Linked DNA regions of Homo sapiens: regions 2, 3 and 4 are each linked to region 1. Evidence: promoter capture Hi-C in 16 types of primary human blood cells and fetal thymus (Javierre and others, 2016). All regions are on one chromosome and are shown on one strand. The core of a region is centred on a gene start or on the middle of the fragment in contact, and the rest is flanking DNA. Distances in the headings are between cores, read along the strand shown. Region 1 holds the start of METTL22 (methyltransferase 22, Kin17 lysine). Region 2 holds the start of LOC100130283 (a long non-coding RNA gene). Region 3 overlaps ABAT (4-aminobutyrate aminotransferase). Region 4 overlaps PMM2 (phosphomannomutase 2).

Evidence for each region. The method cuts DNA at HindIII sites, captures the fragments that hold promoters and counts their contacts. A CHiCAGO score of 5 or more calls a contact.
Region 2: a contact is called between a fragment that was not itself captured here and the fragment with the promoter of METTL22 in region 1, in 1 of 17 cell types (neutrophils). The highest score is 10.7, in neutrophils.
Region 3: a contact is called between a fragment that was not itself captured here and the fragment with the promoter of METTL22 in region 1, in 1 of 17 cell types (neutrophils). The highest score is 8.8, in neutrophils.
Region 4: a contact is called between a fragment that was not itself captured here and the fragment with the promoter of METTL22 in region 1, in 1 of 17 cell types (neutrophils). The highest score is 6.5, in neutrophils.

Annotation. Positions count from the first base shown.
Region 1 is chr16:8,620,236-8,623,134 of GRCh38, reverse strand. METTL22 (methyltransferase 22, Kin17 lysine) reads right to left here and starts at 1,437. Exons shown (of 11, transcript NM_024109.4): 1 at 1,360-1,437. The HindIII fragment of the contact is 6,720 bases long and covers 1-2,899 here.
Region 2 is chr16:8,847,991-8,850,827 of GRCh38, reverse strand. PMM2 (phosphomannomutase 2) reads right to left here. Exons shown (of 8, transcript NM_000303.3): 8 at 1,503-2,837. LOC100130283 (a long non-coding RNA gene) reads right to left here and starts at 1,359. Exons shown (of 5, transcript NR_147908.1): 1 at 1,173-1,359; 2 at 835-979. RefSeq lists an enhancer at 306-445. The HindIII fragment of the contact is 5,253 bases long and covers 1-2,837 here.
Region 3 is chr16:8,750,436-8,753,398 of GRCh38, reverse strand. ABAT (4-aminobutyrate aminotransferase) reads right to left here. Exons shown (of 16, transcript NM_020686.6): 5 at 2,860-2,963. Among named protein-coding and RNA genes, the nearest start is that of TMEM186, 46 kb to the left of the region's middle. RefSeq lists an enhancer at 1,304-2,048. The HindIII fragment of the contact is 2,732 bases long and covers 316-2,963 here.
Region 4 is chr16:8,824,719-8,827,563 of GRCh38, reverse strand. All of the region lies in intron 7 of PMM2 (phosphomannomutase 2), which reads right to left. Among named protein-coding and RNA genes, the nearest start is that of PMM2, 28 kb to the right of the region's middle. The HindIII fragment of the contact is 4,887 bases long and covers 1-2,845 here.

The sequences.
Region 1 (2,899 bases), core at 188-2,687:
GCCATGTTGGCCAGGCTAGTCTTGAACTCCTGACCAAGGTAGATCCATCTACCTTGGCCTCCCAAAGTGCTGGGATTATAGGTGTGAGCCACCAGGCATGGCCTATAGCGCAATTTTGTTGGAAAACTTACATCCCAGAAAAATCAATGTTCTTTGCTTTTTCCAAAAGTGAGCATAATATTACACACCAAATTTTAAGTATAGACACACACAAAAAAACTCAAATTCTTAATCTCTAGTTGAATTTTCCATTTTTAAATTCAACCCAACCAGGCTTCCCAAGAAATGTACGCTGCAATGTAAGTTCCAGATGAAGGAGATTCCCTTTAAGTGGCTTTCCCTAGAATCAGCTATCTGGGAATAAGGAGGCCCTCTTGAACCTATCTCAGGCCCTCATATACTCAGAGGAGTATATGAGACAATTACCACTTTTCGGGCTTACGACATATAGTAAACGTTCAATAAGCAACAATAGTAAATACTATCATTATAGTAATATAATAATGATTAAAGTGAATGCTGGGAAGAAAGAAAAAAGGTAACAGTTTCTCTAGTCAGGAAAAGTCTCTTTCCGGAAATGCAGGGTCTGTATGGGCTTCGGGCTCCTCTCTTTACTGGGCAGAGCTGAGAAAGGAGACCCAGGTTGCAGATGGGGACCTGCCCCACCACCTCTCCATAGGGCTGCAGGCTCATCCCTGCAGCAGGAGCTAACGTGTTCTTGGCTCTTCTAAGGCTGTGGGGGCTAGACTGAGACGCTACCAGCTTTCTTCTCCTATAGGTCCCCAGTCAGTTGTCCCAAATAAGCAGTGTGCTGGGATCACGGTGTTGAAATAACTTCCCTCCTCATCTTTCTTTCTGATAACTGCAACTCACTCAACAATCAATAATTTGGCGCGATCCCATGACGATTTAGGCCAGGAGCTGGGGAGGGCAGGGTGTGAAGGCCCAGGCTGGGGGCAGGAAAGACGTGGCCTGGCCACGGTGCGTAGAGTGGTAGTGAGGGGCTCCGGGGACGTCCCCCGTGGGGCTACTCGTTCTCTTTGTCTTGTCGCCTTCCTGACGCCACCCTTGTGGGTTAACTATTGCCCTCTCAAAAAACAGTCACAGGTCGGGCACTGCCCTCCCTTCCTAATCTAGAACCGAAGGAGAGGTGCCTGGACCCAGGATGGAAACCCAGGTGAGGACGTGGACTTCTTTCCCCAACACCCGTGTTGAGAAGGGGAAACTGACGCTAAGAGTGGGGTCGGGCCTTAGGGATCTGGGCCTCCGATCTGTGGGAGCTCGGATTTCAAAGTCAGGCTCGGCGCCAGGAGGTTCCCTGCACCCTACCCTATCCCGCCGCCTCTCCCAGGCACTTACCCGCCGCGGGGCCCAGCCTGGGATCCCACCCGACTCCCGTCTCTGTGGGACTTAGGCGGCCGCCATAACAGGCGGTCTGCGCAGGCGCGGCCCCGCCCCCGCGTGCGACCATCCGACTGCCCCGCACCGTGGCTCCACCTACCTGCCCGGGCCGCGCATGCGTCCGAGGGTTGCCGGCGGGCACCTGTAGCCTTCGCTCTGGTCGCGGGCGAGGCGTGTTTGCTGGGGGGACCCGCCTAGGTGGCTAAACTCATTCCTCTAAAAGACTTAAATAGGAGTTAAATAACTCTCCCAGCTACTAAGTGGTAAAGCCTGGATTCGAACCCGGGGTGTGGGATCAGAGCCGGTGCTATTTAACCAGCATGCTACTGTATTTATTATCACGGGTGTTACCGTCATCCATGCTCTTAGTACTCGTTTGTTTGTTTGTTTGTTTATTTGAGATGGTCTTGCTCTGTCACCCAGGCTGGAGTGCAGCGGCGCAATTTTAGCTCACTGCAGCCTTGAACTCCTGGGCTTAAGGAATCCTGTTTCAGCCTCTCTAGTAGCTGGGACTACAGTTGCGTGGCACCATTTTTTTTTTTTTTTGTACAGACTGTATCTTGTTGTGTTGCCCAGGCTGGTCTCAAACTCCTGGCTTCAAGCAGTCCTCCTGCTTCGGCCTCCTAAAGCTCATAAATTACAGGCATGAGCCACCACGCCCAGCCAGTACTTGTTATTATTAATAGGTGGTAGTGATTTCATTAGGTGGTAGTGATTTCGTTAATTCGTATGCTCATCAAGTTTCCAACACCAAGGGGGTGAGACAGAGTGGCAAACATAAGACTCCATGTTTGCTCGTTTTTTCTTGCCTGCAGAATTTCAGAAAGCCTCTGAGTCCGTGACTGAGCACAGCCCTCAGAAGAATCCCCTGAAGAGGATGAGCAGGATAGACCACAGATTCTCACGTCTCTTGCCTGAGTCACTGCATTTTTAGAAAAAGTACAGTCAATAATATTGGCCCTTTTCTCAATCTATATATTCAGTGACATCATGGAAGTCAGCCTGGCCACAATGGAGTAAGCCAGGGGATGGGCCGCAGGAAACGAGGATACATAGGTAGCCAGGGTTAGAACTTTTGTGACATTCTAAGAACTTTGGATTTTACTGTGCGTGAGATGGGGAGCTGCCAGGGATATACACCACACTGACGTGTTCACAGACATGCCCAGACACACACAGTGGTGCTCACTCTCAGACATGTCAGTGAACATACAAATATACACACAGGAACATATGTAAAGTCCACATATGTAAAATCTATATCCCTGTGTGTTCACATATACACACACGCACACACATGGCCTCAGCTGGCAACCTTTGTCTAAATTACTTTTTTTTCTCTTTTCAAAATAGAATTAAATCAACATCAATTTCATGGTTACTGATGATAAAACGTGGAGAGTTGATAGGGTGACTAAGCGACACAAATAAGAATTTTTTTTTTTTTTTTTTTTAAGAAACAGATTATGTTTCCTGAAATCCCCCAGGACAGTACACA
Region 2 (2,837 bases), core at 231-2,730, 230 kb before region 1:
AAGGAGGTGGAATGAGTTCTACGTCTTGACTTTGGGGTGCCGTGGCAGGCAGCGTGGAGGTTGCCTGTCGTTCAGGTTGGAGGAGCCTGCCTGGGCTGAGGTGGCCAGCTGGGGCCCAGAGCCAGAACACTTGGGAGGGGTGGAGAGGAAGCAGCAGCCCTTGGAGAGGAAGTGATTCAAAACCACGTATGCCTGGATGTGTCCGGACTACGGCAACATCTGCCCAACTGCCTTCTCCTGGCCCCTGTGGGCACTCCCCTTCCAGTAGCTGGAGAGACCTTCCCGGACAGATCATGAGCATGCCCCACACCTCTCCCTCGGGATCAGGTTCAAGCTCAACTTCCTGGCTAGCCTCTCCCTCCAGGGAGCCAGAGGCCTGCCCTGCACTCACCCACTGCTCAGGTTCAACCCAGGCCTTTTCTCTGAGGCTTAAGCCCTGGGTGACCTTGAGTTCAGGGTCAGCTTCTGCAGTGCTGGGGATGGTGACTTTCAACAGTGCTAAGCTGGCCTGGATGCAACCTCTGTGCTTTGCTGTGGCTCAAAATTTACCTACTGTGTTTAAATTTCTTGTGACGGTGTCTTTATCCTGCAACCCCCTAAAGCAGAGAGAGGGACTGACTGTCCCTGCCTTATAGGGTTCTGGGTTGGGAAGGGGTATTACTTGAGTTAGTAATGGCTCACACTCACTGTTCAAAGTGCTTTAAATTCCATACACGGTAAGGACTATCCCATTTGACAGAGGAGGAAACTGAGGCGAAGATGAACTCACCTTAAGTCACGCAGCAGCTTGTAGCAGCAGAACTAGGCTTGGGGTCTTGGCAGCTGTGCTCTTACCTGCCATGTGCAGAACCTGCTGCTCTGGGGTCACGCAGAAGGCACCAGGACATGTTGTGCATGCGTCGTTTAGCTGTTATCACTTTACATCCCACCACAGTGCGGGGCAAGCCGATGCCCTTGGAGTAAGCCCCAGGAAGCTGGCCTGGGATGCAATGTGATGACAAAGAAGGTGGAAGGGGAGTGTCAATTCTGACTGCAGAAGGGAGGCAGCAGACAGTGCAGGAGGGGCTCGAGGGGCCTGGGGAGGGTCTCAAGCAGCCACTGTGGGAACTGGGGCAGGGACGGCCCAAACCTCCGCGCATCAGCACCCAGCCTGGCAGACTCGGGGTACTCACCTGAGGGCAGCCCTGTGCAGGCGGTGACACAGCAGCAACCCTCCATCTCCGGTTAAAACAAGTTTGAGTAAGACTCGGTTGTCTCGCTTTGACGCAATACGTTAAGGAAACTTGTAAAGAATGGCAGATCCTGACCCAGTGGGCAGAAAAGCAGCGGGGGAGGAGTCTGTGCATCAGGAACAGCAACATGCAACTCCGCAGAGGGAGGGGCCCCCGATGTGACAGAAATCCAGAGTAAAGAAAGAGTGGCTCTCAGACCTGGAAGGGCTGGGGTTCCATTCCAGAATCTGGGAACATAGGAGGAAAAAGAAATCGGAATGAGAAACAGGAAACAATAAAATCACTTTAATGTGCTACTCTTCACTTTGGAAGGTCATTACAGTATCATTCGACAAGGAAAGATGCCGCTGGATGGCTGTGTCCTGTGAGTCACTGGGATGAGCTGGCTGCTTTCACCCCACCGGATCCGGGGCTCAGACAGTTACAAGCCCGAGTGGCTGGGAGGTTTGGAGGGAACCAGGTTTAGCTGTGATGAAAGCACCTGGCTGTGGGCTGGGAGGCAGGAGTGCAGGGCAGCCTGGGCTCCCCTGGCCCCAGACTCAGGTCGGCAAGTGCCCAGTGGAGGCCACACAACCCCAGCACCAAGCAATGGAGGGTGTATGGCTCAGTGTTTCCACATCCTGAAAAGTGACACATGAACCGTTTCCTAGGAAAGTTCTCTTCCACCGTGTTCTAGCTGAGACCCGGGATCCTTCCAGTTTCACGAAGAACGTGCAGAAGATGAAAAGAGTGAGGGACGCGGACCTAGCTGTAGCTGCACTCAGCCGCCTCCGTGGTAAAGTCTGGGTGAAGGCCTGGGTGAGTGCAGATAGGAGAGCAGCTCCTCTTACTGTTCTCTGGCTGGGCTCTCGCTCCATCCCTGAGAAACTAGAGGCGAACGCCTCCAGGAAGCCAGCCAGGGGCAACCAGAAAGTCCTTTTGGTGAAGTCTGACATCCCGCGTTGGTTTCTCTGGACCTGGGTAAGAACCGGCCCCAGGGCAAGGACTGTTTTGCCAGCACCAACTCTCCAGCCCAGCTGTTGGTTCCCACTACCTCCGGTCTCGGAGACAGAGAAGCAGCCAGGCTATTCTGAGTGTAGTGAACACAGAGCCGGTCCGAATCCGGCCCAGCCGAGGTGCAAACTCCCTAGGGTCTGCTCCCACTTGGCCAGCCATCTGTCCAGCAGGCCTCAGCCCCAAACACGGGAAAACGCAGAGTGCGTCTAGTCACTGGGTATCACACTGCCCCACTCACAGCCCCCATCAAGGTGACATGCAGGCGGGAGCTTCGTTCCAGGAGGTGTTTGTAAACTTCGTCCTGGGCTGGGTCACTGCAGATGGCCTGTCCTGGTTTCTCATTACCAAACCCCCATGTTTGGTATTGATGCAGGGGCCCATTAAAAAAACCGCTTATGTTTCCACAGACCCACCAAGAGGGAGGGTCCAGGCACAGTTTTTCTTTCTGTATCATCCTAGAATGATGGGGAAATTTCCGCCAAAACTACATGATTGCACGTATCAGGGTGGGTATTAGACTAGGGGGCTGGGGGTGGGTGGGGAAGACCTTTTGTGCGAGGCATTCCTCTGGGCCATTCTTGACAAGAGTTTTCTCCTTCCTTCTGGAAG
Region 3 (2,963 bases), core at 432-2,931, 130 kb before region 1:
GGAGGGCCAGGCGCGGTGGCTCACGCCTGTATTCCTAGCACTTTGGGAGGCCAAGGTGGGTGGATCACGAGGTCAGAAGATCGAGACCATCCTGGCTAACACGGTGAAACCCCGTCTCTACTAAAAATACAAAAAAAAGTAGCCAGGCATGATGGTGGGCACCTGTAGTCCCAGCTACTTGGGAAGCTGAGGCAGGAGAATCGCTTGAACCCAGGAGGCAGAGCTTGCAGTGAGCCGAGATCATGCCACTACACTCCAGCCTGGGCGACAGAGCAAGACTCCGTCTAAAAAAAAAAAAAAAAAAAAGAATAAGCTTGGGAGGCAGAGAGTTGTTTGTGCACAGCCTGGCTTAGCCTTGGACTCCCTGTGTATGCCAGGAAAATCCTGCAAGCTCTTGAGACTCGGGCCCATCAGTCAACTGGAGGTGATGTTAGAAGACCCTACTCCAAGGTGGCTGTAGCCATTTAATGAGATAATGTATAAGGCACTTGGCAATATGCCAAGTGCATAGTAAATTCTCTATAAGTATTAACTTAAAAAAATCTTTTCAAAGACTACAGATACGGGAGGACAGGTGGCCAGAGAGAGAACTTTTAGAACTTCTAGAATTTTTCTGTTTTTGTTTTTTACTGAGACAGGGTCTTGCACTGTTGCCTCAGGCTGGAGTGCAGTGGAGTGATCATAGCCCACTGCAGCCTCAAACTCCTGGGCTCCAGAGATCCTCCTGACTGAGCCTCCAGAGTAGCTGGGACTACAGGCATGCACCAGCATGACTAGCTAATTTTTAAAACTCTTTTGTAGAGATTGGGGTTGGTTCTCACTATAATGCCCAGATTGGTCTTAAACTCCTGGCCTCAAACAATCCTCTTCCCTTGGCCTCCCAAAGTGCTGGGATTATCAGCGTGCTCCACCGTGCCCGACCAAACTTCTAGTTTTTTAAACAAATGCTGCTAATCTGATTCCCTGACCTTCATGCACACAGTGGCTAGCTGGGCATTCAGACTGAGGGAGTCCTCGGGGGTGGGTCACAGTCCCACAGCTAATATATAGTAGAGCCAGGATTTGAACCCAGGACAACTCAAGAGCCCATCCCTTCCACTCCCACACAAAGGGGAGATGGGGTTTTTAAATTCTTGTCTCCAAAATGCCTTCCATAGCTGAGGCATTCCTGAATGATGGACTTCCCCCAAAGAATGAGTCATCCGCTTACTGTCTAATCTCATGTTAGTGGCAAATAAATAGGTGTGAGGAAATGAGCAGGGGAAGAAGAGGAGGGGGGACAGCCAAGGCTGGGTCTCAGGGAAAGGCTCCAGGCTTCTGAGCAGGGTCCAAAGGGAGGTGCTGATGGGGAGCGGAGGATGCCCCGGGCTCTTCTGCAGCAGAAGAACCAGCATTACCTGTGAAGGGACAGGCTTCATCAGACACAGCCTATGGACTACTCAATGTAGCCAGGAATCCATCAGCCAAAGAAACATTAACCATCCAAGCTGCAAATAGCAGCTACCTGCATTTCCAATTTAGCCCTGTCCATCCTGTCTGTGTGCCCTTTTATACAGCGAGTGAACACTCTATATGGCTGGGAGGCGAGGCTGGGGAGGCAGACGCTGTGGGCATCCCACCGAGGTCACTTTTACTGGGCAGGTCACCGTTTTCCAGCTGCTGTGTGTGTTGATTGATAATAACTCCAGCTGCCTCCTTGCCTGGAAAATCGCCCTTGGCAAATGGAAGCCACTTTTCCGAGGAGATTATACGAGTTCTCCCCTCTCGCAGCTGATGGGCGATGACTGGCTGGTGAAGGGTCATAAAAAGCCAGGCCCTTTGCTTCAGTCTGAGACCAACTCTGGGGTGTGGTGTATGCACCAGAGCCCGAAGTGGGGTCAGGCTGTGGATAGTTCTAGCTAAGACCTCATCCTTCTTAGCTTATTCCCCCTGCCCCAGGCTGTTTCCTTTCCTCCCCTTTCTCCTGAGAGCTCTCCCTCAATCAATAACCTGCCCAAGAATCCCTACCTCTGGCTGGGTTCAGTGGCTCACACCTGAAATCCTAGCACTTTGGGAGGCCAAGGTGGGAGGATCACTTGAGTCCAGGAGTTCGAGACCAGCCTGGGCAGCGCATAGTGAGACCACCATCTCTACAAAAAATAAAAAAATTAGGCTGGGTATAGTGGCTCACACCTGTAATCCCAGCACTGTGGGAGGCTGAGGCAGGCAGATCACTTGCGGTCAGGAGTTCTAGACTACCCTGGCCAACATGGTAAAACCCCGTCTCTACTAAAAATGCAAAAATTAGATAGGCATGGTGGCGTGTGCCTGTAATCCCAGCTACTTGGGAGGCTGAGGCATGAGAATCACTTGAACCCGGGAGGCAGAGGTTGCAGTGAGCCAAGATCACGCCACTTCACTCCCGCCTGGTCGACAGAACAAGACTTCGTCTGGAAAAAAAAAAAAAAAAAAAAAAGCAGGGAAAAAGGAAATCCCCACCTCAGGCTCTTCTTCGAGGAAACTCAACCTAAGACACCTACCTGGGTGCCACTGTGGTCACACAGATGGGTTTGCATTCTAGCTATGATTCCTACGCAAGGTACCAAACCTTTCTATGCTTTGTTTACCTATCTGCAAAATGGGGATATTAATACATACTTACCCTGTGGAATTTGGGGAAGGAGTAGATGAGAGAGGACATATAATATGTCTAATAATATACCCTTTACACATTATTTATTTTTTTCCTACCCTTGGGTGAAGTGTCAGGCAACACTCTGGGATGTGCCTGCTGGAAGCCACATCCTAATACCTGGATAGCCACGACTAGGAGAGACAGAAACAGAGGTTATATCCAAGGAATGATTTCCCAGCTCTTACCTATGGGGACAGAGGAGATCTGGGAATAAAGATCCAGCATTCGGTTGCCGTCCACATCAACCAGGTAATTGCCTCGGCTCTCTTCGTAATTGCAGAAAAAATGC
Region 4 (2,845 bases), core at 334-2,833, 200 kb before region 1:
ATTAGCCAGGCCTGGTGGCGTGTGCCTGTGGTCCCAGCTACTCGGGAGGCTGAGGCACGAGAATCACTTGAACCCGGGAGGCAGAGGCTGCAGTGAGCTTAGATCATGCCATTGCACTCTATCTAGCCTGGGTGACAGAGCAAGACTCCATTTCAAAAAAAAATAAAAATAAAAATAAAAAAATAAAAAAAAGGCCTTTGTGCTTTTTCTCTTCCTGGATTTTTTTTTTTTCTTCGAGGAATGAGTTTTTGTTTGTCTTTCTTCTCAGTCAACTGAATTATTTCCCCAGTCTGTCTTCCTGCCACTCTGAATGCCCACATGAGAGGACCTAAGGTACTTTCTGACAGCTGGGGACTCCTTGGGAAAAAGAGAGAAGGCTCCACAGACCCTGTTTTGGGAGAAACTCTGTTTTCCTCATAAAACCCCAAGAAGTGTAAGCAGACAGACCCCTCTCAAAATCTAAGGCTCTGTTCTGTTTTGAATCACATTACTTGGCCTTTTTCACTTTTGAGGGCATCAGGAATTACTTTAGTAGGGGAGAGAGATATGTGAAAAAAGTTGAGGCTATAAAGATGTATTTTTGGTAAGGATGATTATAAAAAAAGAAATTTATATGAGAAAAGATCTTGTATGGTAAATTCTTGTCCTAAAATAGAACGACTGATTATTCACGAAAGAGGGACACATAGGACAAGTCAGACAGTCCAAGCATGGCATAGATGGTCTCTGTGAGTCGTGACAAGATTTGTAAAATGGGGAAAAAAAACCCCTAAAAAATCAGCAAATGAAAAATCTTAACTAATGCATCTTCTTCGGTCTATATATTTATAATGTTGTGTGTGTGATGTTTAAGAGCTGTAATTAATTGGCTTAAAAAATAAGCACTTAAATATTTTTTCAAAGAAATAGCAACTCTAATGCATTTTAGTTCACATGACGTTAGTAATCTTTGGTAAATAAAGATAGTTTTAAAGATTATTGATGAAATAAAACTGTCTTCATTTGGTCTGAATTAGGCAGATCAGATACTGTTTCTGCTGGATGCTTTAAGGTCATAAGTGGCTTCTGTGACTTTTGTAATTGTTCAATTTACCTACTTTAGAGCCATTAGATTCCAGATAAGGCCTGGGGACATATGGAGGTAGCCATGACTCCTAGCTAGGCCAGAGAGAGTCAGACTTTATCTGCAGTTCTGTCCTGTATTCTAGGCTCTGCACTTGGTATGTAATTAAAACTGCTTAAAGACATGGGAATATGGGTTTTTTTAAAAGAGAAAATCTTCTCTAATTTAGAGAGTTTAAAGATTATTTTTGGTTGAAAGACAAAATAAAACTGAAAGTTTAAGCAAATTGTAGGTTTGTGAAAAATTAACTTTGTGAACAACTCTGTGTGTGAGCAAGCTGGCTAAAATCGAAAGGGTATTATTTAATTTTTTCCATAAATTAAATATTAAAAGCATACTGATGCAGGGCCAGAATCTGGGCCCATATATCAAAATAATAGGGTTTTATGCCAGATGCGGTGGCACATGCCTGTAATCCTAGCACTTTGGAAGGCCGACGCAGGCAGATCACGAGGTCAGAAGTTCGAAACCAGCCTGGCCCATATGGTGAAATCCTGTCTCTACTAAAAATACAAAAATTAGCCGGGCGTGGTGGCACACGCCTGTAGTCCCAGCTACTCGGGAGGTTGAGGCAGAAGAATTGCTTGAACCTGAGAGGCAGAGGTTGCAGTGAGCTGAGAATGTGCCACTGCACTCCAGCCTGGGCAATGGAGCAAGACTCCATCTCAAAAAAAAAAAAAAAAATAGTGTTTTATTTTTGAACACTGATTTGTTAACAAACAATTATAAAGGGTTATATAAAAGGTTTACGAAAATGTTACCCTACAGTCAAACTAAAATCGGATACATTTGTTTGTAAAATTTTATTAAAAACTAGCTTTGGCTAGGAGTGGTGGCTCACAACTGTAATCCCAGCGCTTTGGGAGGCTGAGGTGGGCGATCACGTGGGGTCAGGAGTTCAAGACCAGCCTGGCCAACATGGCGAAACCCAGTCTCTACTAAAAAATACAAAAATTAGCCAGGAGTGGTGGTGGGTGCCTGTAATCCCAGCTACTTGGGAGGCAGGAGAATCGCTTGAACCCAGGAGGCGGAGGGTGCAGTGAGCCGAGATCATGCCACTGCACTCCAGCCTGGGTGACAAGAGTGAAACTCCGTCTCAAAACTACAACAGGCCGGGCACAGTGGCTCATGCCTGTAATCCTAGCACTTTGGGAGGCCGAGGTGGGTGGATCACGAGGTCAGGAGATCAAGACCATCCTGGCTAACATGGTGAAACCCCGTCTCTACTAAAAAATACAAAAAATTAGCCAGGCGTGGTGGCACACGCCTGTAGTCCCAGCTACTCGGGAGGCTGAAGCAGGAGAATGGCATGAACCCAGGAGATAGAGCTTGCAGTGAGCTGAGATCGTGCCACTGTACTCCAGCCTGGGCAACAGAGCGAGACTCCACCTCAAACAACAACAAAAACAAAACTAGCTTTAGCATTAAAGATGCACTAATGCGAGATAAAATTTGGTTTTCTCTTTTGAAGAATATTTTTATGTAATATTGACAGAGAGAGACAATGAAAGATTTTTATTTGGCTTTGGAGTAAACTATTAAAAAAAATAAAAGAAAGATTCAGTTGGCCTCATGCTATCTTCACTGGGTTTTGTTGTTTAGAAAGCTGAGTCTTCTCTCTATCAGAGTAAAGGTTTTTCCTGTTACAAAATGTTTGAGTTATCATTGTGGCTAAATGAATTACTTATGGTGACCTGGGATTCTACTTTGTGATATCTAGTG